Regions from separate parts of the Homo sapiens genome. Here all the other regions are linked to region 5. The links are contacts of gene promoters, found by promoter capture Hi-C in blood cells and fetal thymus (Javierre and others, 2016). All regions are on one chromosome and are shown on one strand. Each heading gives the region's core, a stretch centred on a gene start or on the middle of the fragment in contact. The rest is flanking DNA. Distances are from core to core; before and after follow the strand shown. Region 1 overlaps PSMB1 (proteasome 20S subunit beta 1). Region 2 overlaps LOC105378146 (a long non-coding RNA gene). Region 3 overlaps TBP (TATA-box binding protein). Region 4 has its middle 4.4 kb from the start of PDCD2. Region 5 holds the start of PHF10 (PHD finger protein 10). Region 6 has its middle 31 kb from the start of PSMB1.

Region 1 (2,700 bases), core at 135-2,634, 810 kb before region 5:
GATGAAGAATTTCTTTAATCTTTTTTCCTGAGGTGAGGTGGGACTACAGGAAGAGAAGCCCGGTTGGCAGCTTTTTAGGCCTCAGAGGAGGAAGGGGGCTGAAGGTCTGTGTTTTGTTTACATCAACTTTCCATTTCATGTGTTTTGCTCCTACCCTTTGCCACTCTAGAGCCTGGTCCCCTAAGTCCAGAGCCTCTGCTAATGTCTCAGGAGACTTCCTTTACTGTCTTCTGTGTTGGTGGATGCAGGGACCTGGAGAGCAGTGCTCCATATTGAAACCTTCAGGACAGCAAGGTCCACAGCTCTTTCCCTTGGTGTCAACCGCTGTCTGCACTAACCTCTCTGTCTTTAATCTCTTAGCTGCTCTCATGCCTTTTAAAAATTTTTCTCCCAAATTAAAAGTGGCTTTAGTTTTTCTGTAGTGAAAACAATCAGTACATGTTTATACATACACTCATGCAGTTTTATGTAAGTAGGACTTTGGTATCTGTTTTTCTGTAACTATACATTATGTATTATCAAGGAGATCTAAGCTATATGCATAATGATTTTTGTATTTAATTAACAAAAAATTTTTTTGTCTTCTGTTTTTGCTGCTGTAATACATAGCATCATTTACCTAACCAGTCCTCTAAAGGGCATTTTGGCTTCCTGTTTTCTTAATATAAACACTATGATGAACATCCTTGTACATACATTTTTGTGTACTTCCCCAATTATGCTTGTCTTGCTAGAATAAACTTCGAGTAGTTGAAGTATTGGGTCAGATAAATTTTTTTTTGTATTTTGTTGAGTATACTCTTTCTGAAGGATACGCCAGTACCCTGAGTACCCGATTTTATATAACCTTCCCAGTATTAGAATTAACACATTTTGAAACATCTTTTTGCCTATTGAACAGTTTATTATTTTCATTTATATATATTCTTGGGCATGTTTTCATATGTTTATTGACTTTATAAATTTCCTCTTTGGAGACTGATTCATATATTAACTGTTGCCCATTTCCTTATTTGCAGGTTAGTTTTCTTCTTACTGATTTTCAAGAACTACATTCGACTGTGTCAAATGTCTGTGATATTATAGATACTCCCAAGAGTGTTATTTGTCTCTTTTGGGTGGTGCCTTTTGCTACACAGAAATTGCTGTGTTTCATACAGTCTAATCTGTCAATCATTTCTTTATGACATTCAGTTTCTTGCCTTGTTAGAAAAACTTCTCCCATCCAAAGCTTAGCTGTATTTCTTTTAAGACTTGTCTGATTTTATTTTTTACATTGAAATGATTGTGCTTTTTGGATTTTACTTTGATGAGGAAAAGCACTTTGTAATCAAGATTCATGCCATTCTACATTTATTTTTGTTTTTATTTATTGATTTTTGCTGTTTTATACTGATTTTACTAGTGTCTCTCTTGCTTCTTCTAGGGGGTCTTTAAAGCTGTGTTCTTGGACATAGCCCACCCTTTCTTTGGTTTATTTTTTTAAATTTGTTGTGTGTGGTTTTCTGAGATTGGTTCCATCCTTGGGTAAAGCTTTTGGGCCTCAGTTTACTTGTGGCCTGTCATCCTCATGAGAGATACAATCATTTTTCTGCCTTTACACCTTACATCTCTTTCTTTTTTTGTATATTGAGGTTAGTGGATTGCCTGCTGTGATCTCATGTCTTGTCCCAAGCTTGCTTCCAGCAAAAATACTTCCCAGTTTCTTAGGTGACCTCAGATGGTGCCTTCTCCACCAGAGAATTCAGTTTACACAATCCTTTTTCTTTTTTTGAGACCAAGTCTCGCTCTGTTGCCCAGGCTGGAGTGCAGTGGCATGATCTCGGCTCACCACAACCTCCGCCTCCTGGGTTCAAGCGATTCTCCTGCCTCAGCCTCCCAAGTAGTTGGGAATAGAGGCACGTGCCACCATGCTCAGCTAATTTTTGTATTTTTAGTAGAGATGGGGTTTCACTGTGTTGGCCAGGCTGATCTCGAACTCCTGACCTCGTGATCGGCCCACCTCAGCCTCCCAGAGTGCTGGGATTACAGGCGTGAGCCACCGCGCCTGGCCAAGTTTACGCAGTTCTATAGTAGAAAACATACAAAGCTAACAGTGGCAGTTGTACATGGTTAGTAAGGAGATTGTCCCTATATCACATCTCCCAGGGTACTGAGTTCTGGTATATAATGTGTTTTCTAAATCAGTTATGTTTTTAAAAAATCATACCTTGTAAATGACTCGTGATTTCTCATACCCAGAACACGGTTGTTTTTAACAGGCCTTTTTAACGATTGTAGAATCACCTGTGTTCTTTGTAACAAACTCAAATAAGATAGAAGCACATGAATTAATTCCCTTCTTTTCTTGCCTCTAATTCAGAGCTCAAAGATGACCAGCCACAGTTACTTATCTTTCCAGACTTTTTTGTGCTTGTACAAATAGTTTTCTTATTCTTTTAAACAAAAGCAGTATCGTATTTTACAGGTTACAGAATTCTCTTCGTTTTACTGTGTCTTGCGGATGTGTCCCTTGGACCTGTCTATATACATAAGTCGTGCTTTCCTTCAAGTTCTCCTCTTCGTTAGCTTAGGAGAGCCAAGAAATAAAGACTTTCTTACAAATGACTGTTTGAGTTTGGCTGATGTGTCCTACAGAAACCTCACCATCTCTCTCTGTGTTCTCCCTACTCTCTTACGGGTCCTTACCTACTACCATGG
Region 2 (2,795 bases), core at 100-2,599, 770 kb after region 5:
TAATCCACTATGAATTAATGTTTGTATATGGAAAAGGTATATATTGGTCCTATTTGGGACATTTGCATATCAAATGTTCCAACACAATTAACTGAAAGGATTCTCTTTCTTTCCTAACATGACTTGTACCTATGCCAAAAGTCACTTGTCAATATATGTCTGAGTCAATTTCTCTATTCTTACTTTTGTTCCATTGATTGCCTATCCCAGTGCCAATGCCACATTTTATTGTTTACTGTCACGTTATAGTGTCTTAAAATCAAGTTATGTGAGTACTTTACTTTTGTTGTTTTGTTCATTTTCCAGAATTTTGTTTTGTTTTTCTTGCAGAATTTTTGTGATTATTATAGTTTCTTTGCCTTTCTACATGAATTTTGATTCAGCTTGTTGTTATTTACAAAGTAGACTTGCTGGAATTTTATTGAGATTGCATTGCTCAAATCAGGGAAAATGGGAGAATGGACATCTTTGAAATATTAAGCCTCAAATCCATGAAACTGCATATTTCTTCATTTACTTAGATATTTCTTCCTTCTTTCATCAGTGTTTTGTAGTTTTCAGCATACAGACGCTGCACCTATTTTGTTATATTTATACCTAATGCTTCATTTATTTTAGTACGATTTAGTGCCTTTTAAATAGTATTGTGTATATTTGAGGTTTACAACATGATGCTATGAAATATAGATGGTAAAATGGTTACAGTGGTGAAACAGATTAACATATCTATTATCTCACATATTTTTTGTGACAAAGGCAGCTAAAATCTACTTATTTAACAAAAATCCTTAACATGGTATAATTTTATGAAGTTTGGCCCTCACGTTGTGCATCCAGTCTCCGGAACTGTTGTCCCACCTACCTTCTATGATATTTTGATCCCTTTGACCTACATCCCCCCATGTCCTCTTGCAACCCCCACCCATGGAAACACTGTTACACACTCTGTCTCTGTGTGTTTGAGGGTTTTTAAAAAAATATCTCACATATAAGTGAGATCATTCAATTGTTTTCTTTCTGTGTCTGGGTTATTTCACATAGAATCATGTCCTCCAGGCCCAGCCATGTTGTGCAAATGACATTTTTTTTAAAATTCAAATTCCAAATGTTCATTATTACAGGTAGAAACATTTTTAATTTTCATGTAAGTTGTTTCCTTTTGGGCATAGAGATGTTTGTAATATTACTGATTTTAGGTGTTTCCTGATTTCTATTACAAGCACTTAGTACTCTACATTTCCCTCAAAGCACTGCTTAGCTGCATCCTGATAATTTTGATATATTGTATTTTAATTTTTGATTCAAAATATTTTTAGTTTAGTGTAAGACTTCAGTTTTGACCCATCATTCATTTAGAAGTGTGTTGTTTATTTGCCATATATTCAGAGATTTTCCAGATATATTTTTGTTTATTTTCAGTTAATTTCATTATGGTTTCAGAACATACTTTGCTTGTTTTCTACTCTTTTTTCATGTTTAAGGTTTAGTCTATGGCACAGACTATCAGCTATCTTGGGAAATATTTCAATTTAAAGATATACTTTGCTGCTGTCTGGAGGAATTTTCTATAAATGCCAATAATAATTAGTTAATAGCATTTATGGAATAAAAATAGGACATAAGATTAGTGATCTTCTGTTTGGCAAAGTTTTCTTAAAGAGGACACAAGAAATTATACATTATAAATTTAAAAAAATGAAAATTATAATCTTTTATTCTTCAAAAGACATCATTAAAATTATTTAATAGACTGAAAGGAAGTATTTGCAAAATAAATATCTGAAAAAGAGCTTTTGTTCTGAATATATAAATAATTTATAACACAATGGTAAGAAAACAAACAACTCAGTACATTTGTGGACTGAGTTGGACAAATATTTTAATGGATATTTCAACAACAACAACAACAAGAAGAAAAGATGCACAAATGGCAAATCAGCAACGGAAAAGATGCTCAACAGTACTAGTCTTTAGGGAAAAGGAGGTTAAAACCATAAGAGCAATACCATTGCACTCGTGTGAGAATATCTAATATTTAAAAGTATGACCATAGCAAACGCTGGTGAGGATGCAGAGCAATTTCAACTCTTATACACTTCGGCTGAGAATGTAAACCGTTTTGGAAAACAGTGTGGTCAATTTATAAAACATTAAACATTCACCTACCATATGACTCAGATATTCTACTCCTAGAATTAATACATTTGAGACCCAAATTTTTGGATACAAATGCTCATATCATTTTTTATTTTTAATATAAAAATAATATATTAAATAATATATTAAATATATATATTAAATAATATAGAAAATAATATAAATGTCTATTAGCAGGTAAATGGGTAGATAAATTGTGCTGTGCTCATGCAACGGGCAACGACTCAGCCATAAAAAGGAACAAACTACTGGGGGACGCAATGAGTGGACGATGCACCCAAAATTGTCAGGTGAAATTAAAGCAGCCAGGTTAAAAGTAAGAAAGAGCATGCACTGCAAGACTCCATTTACATGAAATTCTGGAAAATGAAAACCATTTTACAGTGGCAGAAATCAAACTGACAGTTGCCTCAGGACAGGAACAGAGGGAGGAATGGACACCAAGGAACATGAGGAAGCCTTTTGCTTACAGAAACACATGTTTTCATGGGAAATCAATATGTCACTGTATCAGTATTCATCAATATATGCAACTTATTTTACAGCAATCATACCTCATTAAACATAAGATGAAATAAAGACATTTCAAGTCAGAGAAGAGTTGATCAATTTCCTGCCACAGAATGACATTAAACAGT
Region 3 (2,769 bases), core at 248-2,747, 850 kb before region 5:
CTTCTTTCTTAGATAGGAGATAATATTGGAATGATGTCTTTCCAATTAATCCATACATTATTGGCATCACTAATGATTGGAAAATGCAAGAAAAGGGCATTTCATGCACCGTTCTCTTTGGACTGCAATCTGGTATCAACTGATTAAAACTCAGAATGTATAGTCTTTAGTTCCTCTTCTAGGAAAGTTTACTACATGAATACCTGCACTCATCCGAAAAATACACATACAAGGATGTTCCCTGCAGCGCTGTTGATGATATTGAAAAACTAGAGGTCATGTAAATGACCATAATTACAGGAATAGCTCAGTAAGTGAAGGTACCTAAGAAGAGTATCCTAGATTCCCAATCATGGAAATAGGTTTATGATATATTGACTGAAAAAAGGGAAAGCTATAAAATTGAATGTATTATTTCTTTTTTCCAAAAATGGGATCAAATGCCATGCCCAGAAGATAGACAGAACAGGGCTTAGAAGATACCCACTAATCTGGTCGTTATCTTGGGGAAAGAGGCAGAAGAGAAAGGAAGGAAGGACCTCCCCTTTCTGATTTTATTCCTGAGTCAGCTGAAGATGTACTTTTACAATTAAAAACAACAAACCACTCTAACAATAAAACCTAAGAACCCACAAATGTCCACCTGATAGTCCATGAGAAAAAAACTGCAAAACAAGCAAAAAAAAGTTACTGCAGAGAGTTGGCAGCCTGTGGATAGGGCACCAGCTTCTACACCTGAAGGACTCACTCATTTTTACCACTTACTAGCTGTGTAACCTCAGCCAAGTCCCTCAGCTGGGGCTTCCTTATCTCCTCACCTCCAACAGAGGAACAAAACGTAACTGAAGCTTTGTGAGGATTCCAGGCATTGTATGCAAAATACCTAGAAAACAGGAGTTGCTCAATATATGGAAGGTTCTCAGATCATTAATCTGTTTTCATTGCAGCATACAATGAAATACTGACTGAAGCAAACACCAAAATGGTTTCAGGCATTATATCTAAAATACAACTTTGTAGAAAACAGTATGATCACATGACTCTTACAAGGTATAACAACAATCTAACACTTTTATAAACTGCATTTATTGTACAGAGTACTCTGAAGAAAGAAAAAAATATGTACAGCCATTCATTTTCATTAACACATATATTCTGTCCTGCAATACTGGAGAGGTGGAATGTGTCTGGCACAGAAATAACCCCTAGGAGTTATAAATTAGAAAAACAACACTTTTAAAAAAGATTTTTACTTTTCTGGTAGAAATATAAAAACTGTGGTTCATGGGGAAAAACATTAAAATTAAAAAGTCCAATCAATTATAGAGGTGGCTTTAACACTTAAAGTTTTCTCCCTCAAACCAACTTGTCAACAGCAGTGTTTAAAATCTACATATAAATAAATGGGCAGCGCTGCCCAGATAGCAGCACGGTATGAGCAACTCACAGTCACGCTGCGCGGTGTTCTCAGTGCACAAATAATGCCCCTTCCCGGCATCCCGCGGTGGGCACTTACAGAAGGGCATCACCTGGTGCCACACCCTGCAACTCAACATCCATCTTCTCACAACACCACCATTTAAAGGTACCAAAACAAACTGATTTGTTTAAAAAAAAAAAAAGAAGGGGGTGGGGGAGGCAAGGGTACATGAGAGCCATTACGTCGTCTTCCTGAATCCCTTTAGAATAGGGTAGATGTTTTCAAATGCTTCATAAATTTCTGCTCTGACTTTAGCACCTAAGAAGACAAGTTGGAGTAGAGATGAGAGACTGAAATGGCACTTCTTAACATATTAAGATGGTAAAATTCTTACCTTAAAGCTGCAAGCACAATTCTCACCATACCCAGTCAGATTAAGGCACAGGCATGAAAACATTAATAGTGGAATCCCTTGTCACAATCTTATTTTTGTTTATAAAACAATACTTTTAAAAAATCATCTTAGTGACTCCAGCGTCTCATTCTATAGCTCAAGAGGCATGTATTCACACTTCTCTCCTTGGTCCTGAACCAGGCCATAAACCAAGCAGGACGGCAATGATAACAACTGAATCTTCTTCTCTGAATTGCTGCCTTCAACTAGACTCATTTCTGAATCTTCCTTTCTTGTCTCATAATCATATTGCTGAGGAATCCTAAAGCTTCAGATAACTAATTCCAAGTGAAAACGCCATCTTTTGTTCAATGCAATGCTCACCTCCTCACTGTAAATGGAAGTCTGCTTGCAGAGCTGTGGTCAGACTTCCCTGCTCTCACTGTGCCTTTAGTGGGCACGTTTCTCATCAGACTTTGGGTGGGAGGCCTTTGTACAAGAAGCTAGCCCACTGTCCGAACACTGAAATTTCTTTTCAGCACTGAGAAAATGCCATACTCAAAACACTTACAAACTTTCAGATACTACTTCCTGTTACAACTTACCTGTTAATACAACTTTTCCAGAAACAAAAATAAGGAGAACAATTCTGGGTTTGATCATTCTGTAGATTAAACCAGGAAATAACTCTGGCTCATAACTAGAAGGAAAATTGCAAAAAGTTTAGAAATCAAGAGCTTTGTGTGCTTTTAGATAAAATGAGGACCTGTACAAGGAAAAATACTGAATAAACAAACTAGTCAAGAGGTAAAACACAGTTCTTCAAGCAGCATCAAAGGATAGAATAGAATAATTAAAGCAAGTGAGGCCGACTTGTAGTCGTCAGTTGATAACCACTGGATGGAAGGCTATTTGTCCTCCTATCACTTTACCCTATTTCTATTGAATCTGGATT
Region 4 (2,700 bases), core at 80-2,579, 860 kb before region 5:
CCCAACCTATTCCTTTAATTCGGCACATCCCTTCGTTTCCCATAAGGGATACTTTTAGTTAACTTAATATCTATAGAAACAATACCAATGACTGGCTTGCTGTTAATAAATATGTGGGTAAATCTCTGTTTGGAGCTCTCAGCACTGAAGGCTGTGAGACCCCTGATTTCCCACTTCACACCTCTATATTTGTGTGTGTGTGTCTTTAATATCCCCTAGTGCCACTGGGTTAGGGTCTCCCCGATCGAGCTGGTCTCAGAATTTCCTCTGCATGGGCTTTTGTTTCTTTGTGTATCTCATATTTTTGCTCAAAACTGAATATTTTAAAGACTAGGATGTGGTAACTGTAAGCCAGACCCTTCCCTCTCAAGGGTTTTGTTGTTGTTGCTGTTGAATTTTTTAGTGACTTTCCCTGACTAATTCTATGAAGTCTGTATTCTTTGTCATGTGTCTTTCAGTCTTTGCTTAGTGTGCTGAGTGGTCAGCTAATGATTAGATAGAGATTTCCTTAAATGCCTTGAACCTATGTCTCCCAGCCTTTGTAGAGTGGCTTTGTATGTGCTGGGACACATCTTCAACACTCTGGCAGTCCAAGTCTGCTTTAGCCTTCACTTTCTGATGGCACAGAACCCCAGAGTCAAATGTAAAACATTACAGCTGCCTCAGGTCTTTCATGGCCACGCACAAAGCCCTGCCCCTGTGTAGCTGTCTAGATTTCTGGAATATATCAGAGCTTTTCAAAGCCTTCTTTGAACATATCATTCCCCAGGATTTCTTTTTTTCATTTTTAAAAATTGTGGTAAAATACACATAACATAAAATTTATCATCTTAACCATTTTTATGTGTACAATTCAGTACTATTAAGTCCAGTAAGTCCTCATTTATCATGGATAGATTCTTGGAAACTGTGACTTTAAGCAACACTACTGGTAATAAAACCAATTTGCCATGGGATGATTGATATAAACAAGAGTTAAGTTCTTGTAACATATTTCTGGTCACAAAAACATCAACAAACGTCTAAATAAAGACCCCAAATATTTCTCATTTTAAACATTGAAATAAATGTGAGCTATACATTTAAGAAAGATTGATAAAAACAAGATAATTTTTTTTGGAGATGGAGTCTTGCTCTGTTGCCCAGGCTGGAGTGCAGCGGTGCGATCTCGGCTCACTGCAACCTCCACCTCCCAAGTTCAAGTGATTCTCCTGCCTCAGCCTCCCAAGTAGCTGGGAGTACAGGTGCGCACCACCATGCCTGGCTATTTTTTGTATTTTTAGTAGAGACAGGGTTTCACCATGTTGGTCAGGCTATCTGCAGCTTTTAACAATTGAGTAACACATACTCCTATGAACAAAATTTGGAGCACATTTGGTTCTCTCTACCCGATTTCTCCAGAATTTGGAAACTGTAAGTATTCTTAACTTATGACAATACAGTTATTTGCATAAGTGCACTAATAATCTGTTTTCATTTGTAACAGGACACAATTGGGGAAACTGGTTGTTTACCAATGCTTTTACTTGACTTACGGAGCCAATTAAACCCCCTTGGAAAAACCGTCCTCATAACTTTGTCTACACAGCTCCTGTACAGGGTTCCTGACCTGTGGTAAGTAAAGAATGTCACTTTCTGACAGGCCCAGGAGCCTCAAGTTTATCTTGGAACCTCAAGAGGAGAGGATCACCAAACTCACAGGTATTTGATGGCACAAATCCATGGCTGGGCTCAGCTTTTAAAAAGTCTTATCTGAAATACCCTCTATGGAACAAAGTTCCATCAAAGCCAATTTAAAAGCCAATGTTAAAAAATAATTATTCTTGCTGCACTGTATACAAATAATTCGGCCAAATATAATAAGGCAAACCTATCATGATTTGTCTTTAGTATAAATGGGAAACTAGAGACTGGAAAACTATAGTCCACCAGTTGTTAGATTCTAGTCTTGCCTAATGTTTTTCAATTTTTATCATTTTCTACAGTTTGGACCAAATTCTAATTTTTGTGGGCTACAAGTCTTCAAAATAATGTTTTCAATTTTTTTCCTTCTTTTTTTCCCCATTTTTCCTAATTTGGAGTCACTTAAAACTAAGCTGTCACTAAACTAAGTCACTTAAAACTAACTTTCGTGAAGCCCTGTGAACTGAAGTAGACAACTTAAACTTCAGAAGAAAATAATGGGAACCTATTTACATACATAAGCCACTTTCATACCTGCTTACTGATGTATGGACTTCAGAGTAATGTGGCCTAGATCAATTTTCCAAGATTGTTCTTATTGTTCTCCCTTCCTCCCCAAATTTTCTCTTGATAGGATATTAGACTTCACAACCTTCTAAAAATGAGCTTTCCTAATAACTCAGGACCTACCCTTCTAGGAAAAAACCATCCTAGCCATGAGAGAGCAGATAAAACCTGGGAACAGAAACTTATTTTCTTCAAAAATGCTTTCTCCAAAATATTTTAAAAAAGAAAAGGGGGGAAATGTGAAAGGAAATTACCTTGGAATCCCATAATCACTAAGCTAATGGGAAAAGTCAAGCTGGGAACTGCTTAGGGCAAACCTGCTTCCCATTCCATTCAGTCATCCCTCTGCTCACTGAGATAAATGCATGTCTGACTGCCTCTTTTAGAAAGGTGAATCAGAAACTCAAAAGAGTGCAACCATTTGTCTCTCACCTACCTGTGACCTGGAAG
Region 5 (2,710 bases), core at 139-2,638:
CAGTTGCTGCGCAAATGTCCTTGAAGCATTTTTTTGTGTAGTTTTGTGGCCTTTGTGCAAGGTTGTGGTTTTGGCAGTCTTTTGTGCTAATTCTTTATATCAGGCAATTATTAGTGAGAACTTTCCCATCACGGCTTTCCCTGACTCCATTCTCTGACAGCTTTCACAATCTAGAGACAGAATCCCGGAGGGAGAGGAGTACCAAATAGCTTAAGAGTTTTTTTTTGTTTTTGTTTTTTTTCTTAAAAAAAAAACCGCTAAACTCTACCCTGATCAGTGAAAAGAATTTAGCTGAAAGATGCAGTTTCTTCTTGGCAGATTCAGACAAGAAGTGCGGCGGAAGCTTACACCTGCACGTGGTGGGACAGAGGCAAGAACGGATGGTCTGGCTGAGGCTGAGAGAACCAAGCTGGATTAGGATCGGCTTGAGGGCCCGGCGTCGTCAGTGGTGACCTCTCTGACCTGAGGCAAGTGAGTCAGGCTGGACTGAGCGTGTTAACGTCGGTGTTTGTCAATGTGACGCGCTAGAATAATCCCTTTATCTTTCCCAACTTTTGTTTGTTGAGTGTAGGCAACTATAATGAATGGAAAGGAAACCGGATTGTACTTTAAATCCGAGAACATTCTCTACTCTCCAGAACAAGTCATCTGCAGGCGCAGGCAGTGGAATCCGTGAGGCCAGCTGTACGGCGGGCCGCCCCGGACCCAGGCTTGGCTCCTCACTTTCCGCTGTTTTTAGTGCGGTCCTACAAGTGCCCTGGTGCAGCCCGAGATCAGTAATAAATGCAGCTGAAATACACCGGCTCCCACGTTCTCGCGGGGGTACCTGCCAGGCCGGCGTCCACGCTCCTCCCCGGCTCCCGGCCGACCGCGTTCTCGGCGGAGGCATCAACCACGCGGGCACGCAAAGCCACGAGGGCCGAATCTCAGCGACTTCTTCCCGCTGTGCCTCCCGCACGCTCCGGGGCGGGCGCCGACAGCCCCCGGGTGCAGCTGCGGATGCTCGGGGAAGCGTGGCCTGGGCAGGTGGCTCCGCTGCTCTCTCGGAGCGCCACCAGCGAGAGGGGCGACCCGAGAACAAAGGCGGGAGAGGAGCGGCGACCGCGAGCGCGTAGAGGCGGAGGCCGCGCAGTCTCCGCGCGACTGCTCCGGGCAGGGCGACCCCCGGCAGAGAGGGGGCGGGGCGGGGACCCCCGGGAGGGGCGGGGAGGGGCGCGGCGGGGGCGCGGAGAGAGGGAGGGAACGAGGGTGACGCGCGGAGGGGCCGGGCCGGGGGCCGCGGGGAGGGGGCGGCTGCGAGCGCGCCAAGTGGCGACGTGCCGGGCCGGGGCGGGCCGGAGGGCGGGCGGGAGGTGGGGCGCGCCGGGGGCTGGGGGGAGCCGCGGCCGAGTACAACGCCGGGCCGTGGGGAGCCAGGCGGCGGCGGGGCTGAGGCGGCCGCGGGGCTGAGGGGAGCGGCGGGGCTGAGGCGAGCGGCGGGGCTGAGGCGAGCGGCGGGGCTGAGGCGGCCGCGGGGCTGAGGCGAGCGAGCGGCGGGGCTGAGGCGAGCGAGTGGCGGGGCTGAAGGGAGTCGCGGCGGCGCTGAGGCCAGCGGCGGAGCTGTGGGGGGCAACGGTGCTGAGGCGGTGGCCGCGGCCGGGCGGGTTGGGCTGACGTGAGAAGCGCCGCCGCCGCTGGGCCTCCTCCATTCCGGCCCGCAGCCCCGCGCCCTCCCAGCCTTTGGCGCCCTCCCGCGCGGGCGGCGCGCTGGCGACGGCCATGGCGGTGGCGGCGGCGCTGGCGGGCCGCGGGGCGCGCGGCGGCAGGGGCCGGCCCCCGGGCGGGCGGGCGGAGGGGGCGGGGCCGGGGCGGCGGGGGGCCCGCGCGGCGGCGGCGGCGGCGGCGGCGGCAGCGGCGGCGGCGGCCGGGACAAGGCGGAGGCGACGGCGGCGGCGGCGGCGCGGGGCGCTCGGGCTGATGGCGGCGGCGGCCGGGCCCGGGGCTGCGCTGTCCCCGCGGCCGTGCGACAGCGACCCAGCCACCCCCGGAGCGCAGTCCCCGAAGGTGAGGAAGCGGCCGGTGCGACCCGACCCTGACCCCGTCCCGGGCCTGGGTGCCGGGGCGTGGGCCCAGTCCCACCGGCGGCCGCCCAGCGTCTCGGGGGCGTGGGCCCAGGCCGGGCGCCGCGCCTGAGACCGGGGGTGGTCGGCGAGGCGGGGCCCCGAGGTGAGCCCGCGGCCTCTAGCGAGCAACAAGTGCGGGCGGGCGGGGGACGCGGCGCGGCTTCCCCGAAGTTGGCAGCCGGCCCTGCTTGACAAGCTTGTCCCCAAAACGCCTCCTCCTAGGCCAGCCGTGGGACGGAACGCGCCCGGGGCCGAGAGAGTTGGCCTCGGAGGGGCCTGCAGAAGCGCGCGTTCGCTCAGCGTTCATTCCGCGCATAGTTTGCCGAAGTGTTTGAACGCTTACTGCAAAAACCGAGTGGCGAACGATATGGAAAATCAACACACTCAGTGAACTTACTGTAATAACTAAGTTAATACGCAAGCGTCCGGATGTTTTCAGCGGAAGTCTGTTAAAACTTTTTACTGCTTGAGGAGGTGAAAAGAAATTGGTGCTTGTGGAGAAAATGGAGATGAGCAGTAGTGTCACGCATCAAAACGTTTTGGTTCTAAAGTTAGGCTAGCAGTTTGTGACAGAAAGTTGGAAGGGAGGAATGATGTTTTAAAAGCCT
Region 6 (2,787 bases), core at 107-2,606, 800 kb before region 5:
AAGACATCAGGTTAGAACAGGAGTCCAGGGGCGATATGTTAGAAAACCTAACAAGAACTGGACATTTACAAGAAGTCAGGTGTAAGGACTGAGGAGACGTGGTTTCTTTACTTTTGCAGAACAGCTGTGCAGCCAGTCCCTGGGATGGGCTCCTGTCCGGGGCTGCGCACTCACAGGCTGCCAGAGTGAGCAATGGAAAGGCAGGTTAGGCTTCTCCCCATGCTACTCAGGCCGCTGTGCTCCACCACAGCCTACGGGAGGCAGCCAAGCTCCTCTGCTACGTGTACTGTCAGAGGCTGGTCACCTCCCCTCACTTTTAAGGGTCTCTGACCCTCACTTTTCTGGCAACAGCAAGTTGCTTATCGTTGCCCAAAGATACTGAAGTGGTTGTAGGCTCTGGAATCCAAAAGACAGAGAATCAGGCCTACCCCATCTCTTCCTGTCTGTGTGGCCTCAGGCAGTTAGTGGAAGTCCGTAGGCCTTGCTCCCTCACTTATGAAATGTGGATGATAGTACCTTCCTCATAGGCACCCAGTGAAGAGTACATGAGATAATGTTTGTAAAGCTCTTGTTCCAGTGCCTAACACAGTACGTCCTCAGTGAATCACAGTTATTCCTGTTATGCCTTACAGGCTATTTTCCCAGCGGGGACCCACAACCCCTCCATGCACCCCTAGCTCCCATATGCCTGGAAACTCACATTCATCTTTCAAACGTGAGTCAAGTTTTGACTCAAGTGTGCCTCTCTGTGAAGCTGCCTCTGATCCCGTCCCCCGCCTTCTTTTTCTCTGTCCATTTCCATTTCTTATGACTGCATAGTATTCCATAGTGTATATGTACCACATTTTCTTTATCTAATCCACTGTTGATAGGCACCTAGGTTGATTCCATGTCTTTGCTATTGTCAGTAGTGCTGTGATGAATGTGTGTGTGCATGTCTTTTTTTCTTTTTGAGACAGAGTTTCGCTCTTGTTGCCCAGGCTGGAGTGCAATGATGTGCAAACTCTGCCTCCTGGGTTCAAGCAATTCTTCTGCCTCAGCCTCCTGAGTAGCTGGGATTACAAGCATGCGCTACCACACCTGGCTAATTTTGTATTTTTAGTAGAGACAAGGTTTCTCCATGTTGGTCAGGCTGGTCTCAAACTCCCAACCTCAGGTCATCCTCCAACTTCGGCCTCCCAACGTGCTGGGATTACAGGCGTGGGCCACTGTGCCCAGTGCATGTGTCTTTTTGGTAGAATGAATTGTTTTCATTTGGATATATACCCAGTAGTGGGATTGCTGGGCCAAATTGTAGTGCTGTTTTAACTTTTTCAAGAACTCTTCAAACTGCTTTCTATAGTGGCTGAACTAATTAACCTTCCCACCAACAGTGTATAATTATTCCTTTTTCTCCACAGCATCACAGCATCTGTTGTTTTTTGACTGTTTAGTAATAGCCATTTTGACTGGTGTGAGATGGTATCTCATTGTGGTTTTGATTTGCATTTCTCTGATGATTAGTGATATGGAGCATTTTTTTGCGTTTGTTGGCTGCATGTCTGTCTTCTTTTGAGGAGCGTCTTTTCATGTCTTTTGCCCATTTTTTAATGGGGTTGTTTTTTGCTTGTTCATTTGTTTAAGTTCCTTGTAGGTTCTGGATATTAGACCTTTGTCAGATGTGTGTTTTTTGAATATTTTCTCCCATTCCGTAGGTTGTCTGTTTACTCTGTTGATAGTTTCTTTTGCTGTGCAGAAGCCCTTTAATTATGTCCCACTTGTCAATTTTTGTTTTTGTTGAAATTGCTTTTGAGGACTGAATTACAAGTTCTTTCCTAAGGCTAATGTCTAGAATGGTTTTTCCTAGGTTTTCTTCTAGGATTCTTAACAGTTTGAGGTCTTACATTTAAATCTTTAATCCACATGAACTAATTTTTGTATACGGTGAAAGGTAGGAATCCAGTTTCATTCTTCTGTGTATGACTAGACAGCGAACCCAGCACCATTTATTGTTTAGAGAGCCCTTTCCCCATTGCTTATTTTTGTTGACTTTGTTGAAGATCAGATGGCTGTAGGTGTGTGGCTTTATTTCTGGGTTCTGTATTCTGTTCCATTAGTCTATGTGTCTGTTTTTGTACCAGTGCCAAGTTATTTTGGCTACTGTAGTATTATAGTATAGTTTGAAGTCGGATAATGTGATGCCTCTGGCTGTGTTCTTCTTGCTTAATATTGCTTTGGCTATTTGGATTTTTTTTTGTTCCATATGAATCTTACAGTAGTTTTTTCTAGTTATTTGAAAAATGACATTGGTAGTTTGATAGGAATAGCATTGAATCTGTAGATTACTTTGGGCAGTATGGCCAGATTAATGATACTGATTCTTCCAGTCCATGGGTAGGGAATGTTTTTCCATTTGTTTGTATCATCTATGATTCCTTTCAGCAGTGTTTTGTAGTTCTTCTTGTAGAGATCTTTCACCTCCTAGTTAGATGTATTCCTAGGTATTTTATTTTCTTTGTGGCTGTTGTAAATGAGATCATGTTCTTGATTTGGTTCTCAGCTTGAATGTTATTGGTGTATAAAAATGCTACTGATTTTTATACATTGACTTTGTATTCTACAACCTTACTGAAATTGTTTATCAATTCTAGGAGCCTTTTGGTGGAGTATTTAGGGTTTTCTAGGTATAGAAACATATCATCTGCTAAGAGAGATAATTTGACTTCTTTTTTTCCTATTTGTATGTCTTTTATTTTTTTCTCTTGCCTGACAGCTTTGGCTACCACTTCCAGTACTATGCTGAATAGG

The links. The method cuts DNA at HindIII sites, captures the fragments that hold promoters and counts their contacts. A CHiCAGO score of 5 or more calls a contact.
Region 1: a fragment that was not itself captured here is called in contact with the fragment with the promoter of PHF10 in region 5 in 8 of 17 cell types (M1 macrophages, naive CD8 T cells, total CD8 T cells and 5 more); the score reaches 10.2 in M1 macrophages.
Region 2: a contact is called between a fragment that was not itself captured here and the fragment with the promoter of PHF10 in region 5, in 1 of 17 cell types (M0 macrophages). The highest score is 7.3, in M0 macrophages.
Region 3: a fragment that was not itself captured here is called in contact with the fragment with the promoter of PHF10 in region 5 in 1 of 17 cell types (total CD4 T cells); the score reaches 5.8 in total CD4 T cells.
Region 4: a fragment that was not itself captured here is called in contact with the fragment with the promoter of PHF10 in region 5 in 1 of 17 cell types (fetal thymus); the score reaches 5.6 in fetal thymus.
Region 6: a contact is called between a fragment that was not itself captured here and the fragment with the promoter of PHF10 in region 5, in 2 of 17 cell types (M1 macrophages and erythroblasts). The highest score is 5.8, in M1 macrophages.

Annotation. Positions count from the first base shown.
Region 1 is chr6:170,537,772-170,540,471 of GRCh38, reverse strand. The region is part of intron 4 of PSMB1 (proteasome 20S subunit beta 1); the gene reads left to right. Among named protein-coding and RNA genes, the nearest start is that of PSMB1, 14 kb to the left of the region's middle. The HindIII fragment of the contact is 302 bases long and covers 1,234-1,535 here.
Region 2 is chr6:168,953,147-168,955,941 of GRCh38, reverse strand. It overlaps LOC105378146 (a long non-coding RNA gene), which reads left to right. Exons shown (of 4, transcript NR_136250.1): 3 at 2,703-2,795. Among named protein-coding and RNA genes, the nearest start is that of LINC01615, 210 kb to the left of the region's middle. The HindIII fragment of the contact is 3,316 bases long and covers 1-2,795 here.
Region 3 is chr6:170,571,155-170,573,923 of GRCh38, reverse strand. It overlaps TBP (TATA-box binding protein), which reads right to left. Exons shown (of 8, transcript NM_003194.5): 7 at 2,420-2,514; 8 at 1,065-1,738. The coding sequence ends at 1,659. Among named protein-coding and RNA genes, the nearest start is that of PDCD2, 12 kb to the left of the region's middle. The HindIII fragment of the contact is 1,294 bases long and covers 851-2,144 here.
Region 4 is chr6:170,587,689-170,590,388 of GRCh38, reverse strand. No RefSeq gene overlaps it. Among named protein-coding and RNA genes, the nearest start is that of PDCD2, 4.4 kb to the right of the region's middle. The HindIII fragment of the contact is 4,128 bases long and covers 1-2,700 here.
Region 5 is chr6:169,723,178-169,725,887 of GRCh38, reverse strand. PHF10 (PHD finger protein 10) reads left to right here and starts at 1,388. Exons shown (of 12, transcript NM_018288.4): 1 at 1,388-2,043. The coding sequence starts at 1,957. It also overlaps a transcript of DYNLT2 not described here. RefSeq lists an enhancer at 723-1,265 and silencers at 1,197-1,496, 1,567-1,806, 1,907-2,286. The HindIII fragment of the contact is 1,955 bases long and covers 346-2,300 here.
Region 6 is chr6:170,520,454-170,523,240 of GRCh38, reverse strand. No RefSeq gene overlaps it. Among named protein-coding and RNA genes, the nearest start is that of PSMB1, 31 kb to the left of the region's middle. The HindIII fragment of the contact is 3,242 bases long and covers 1-2,787 here.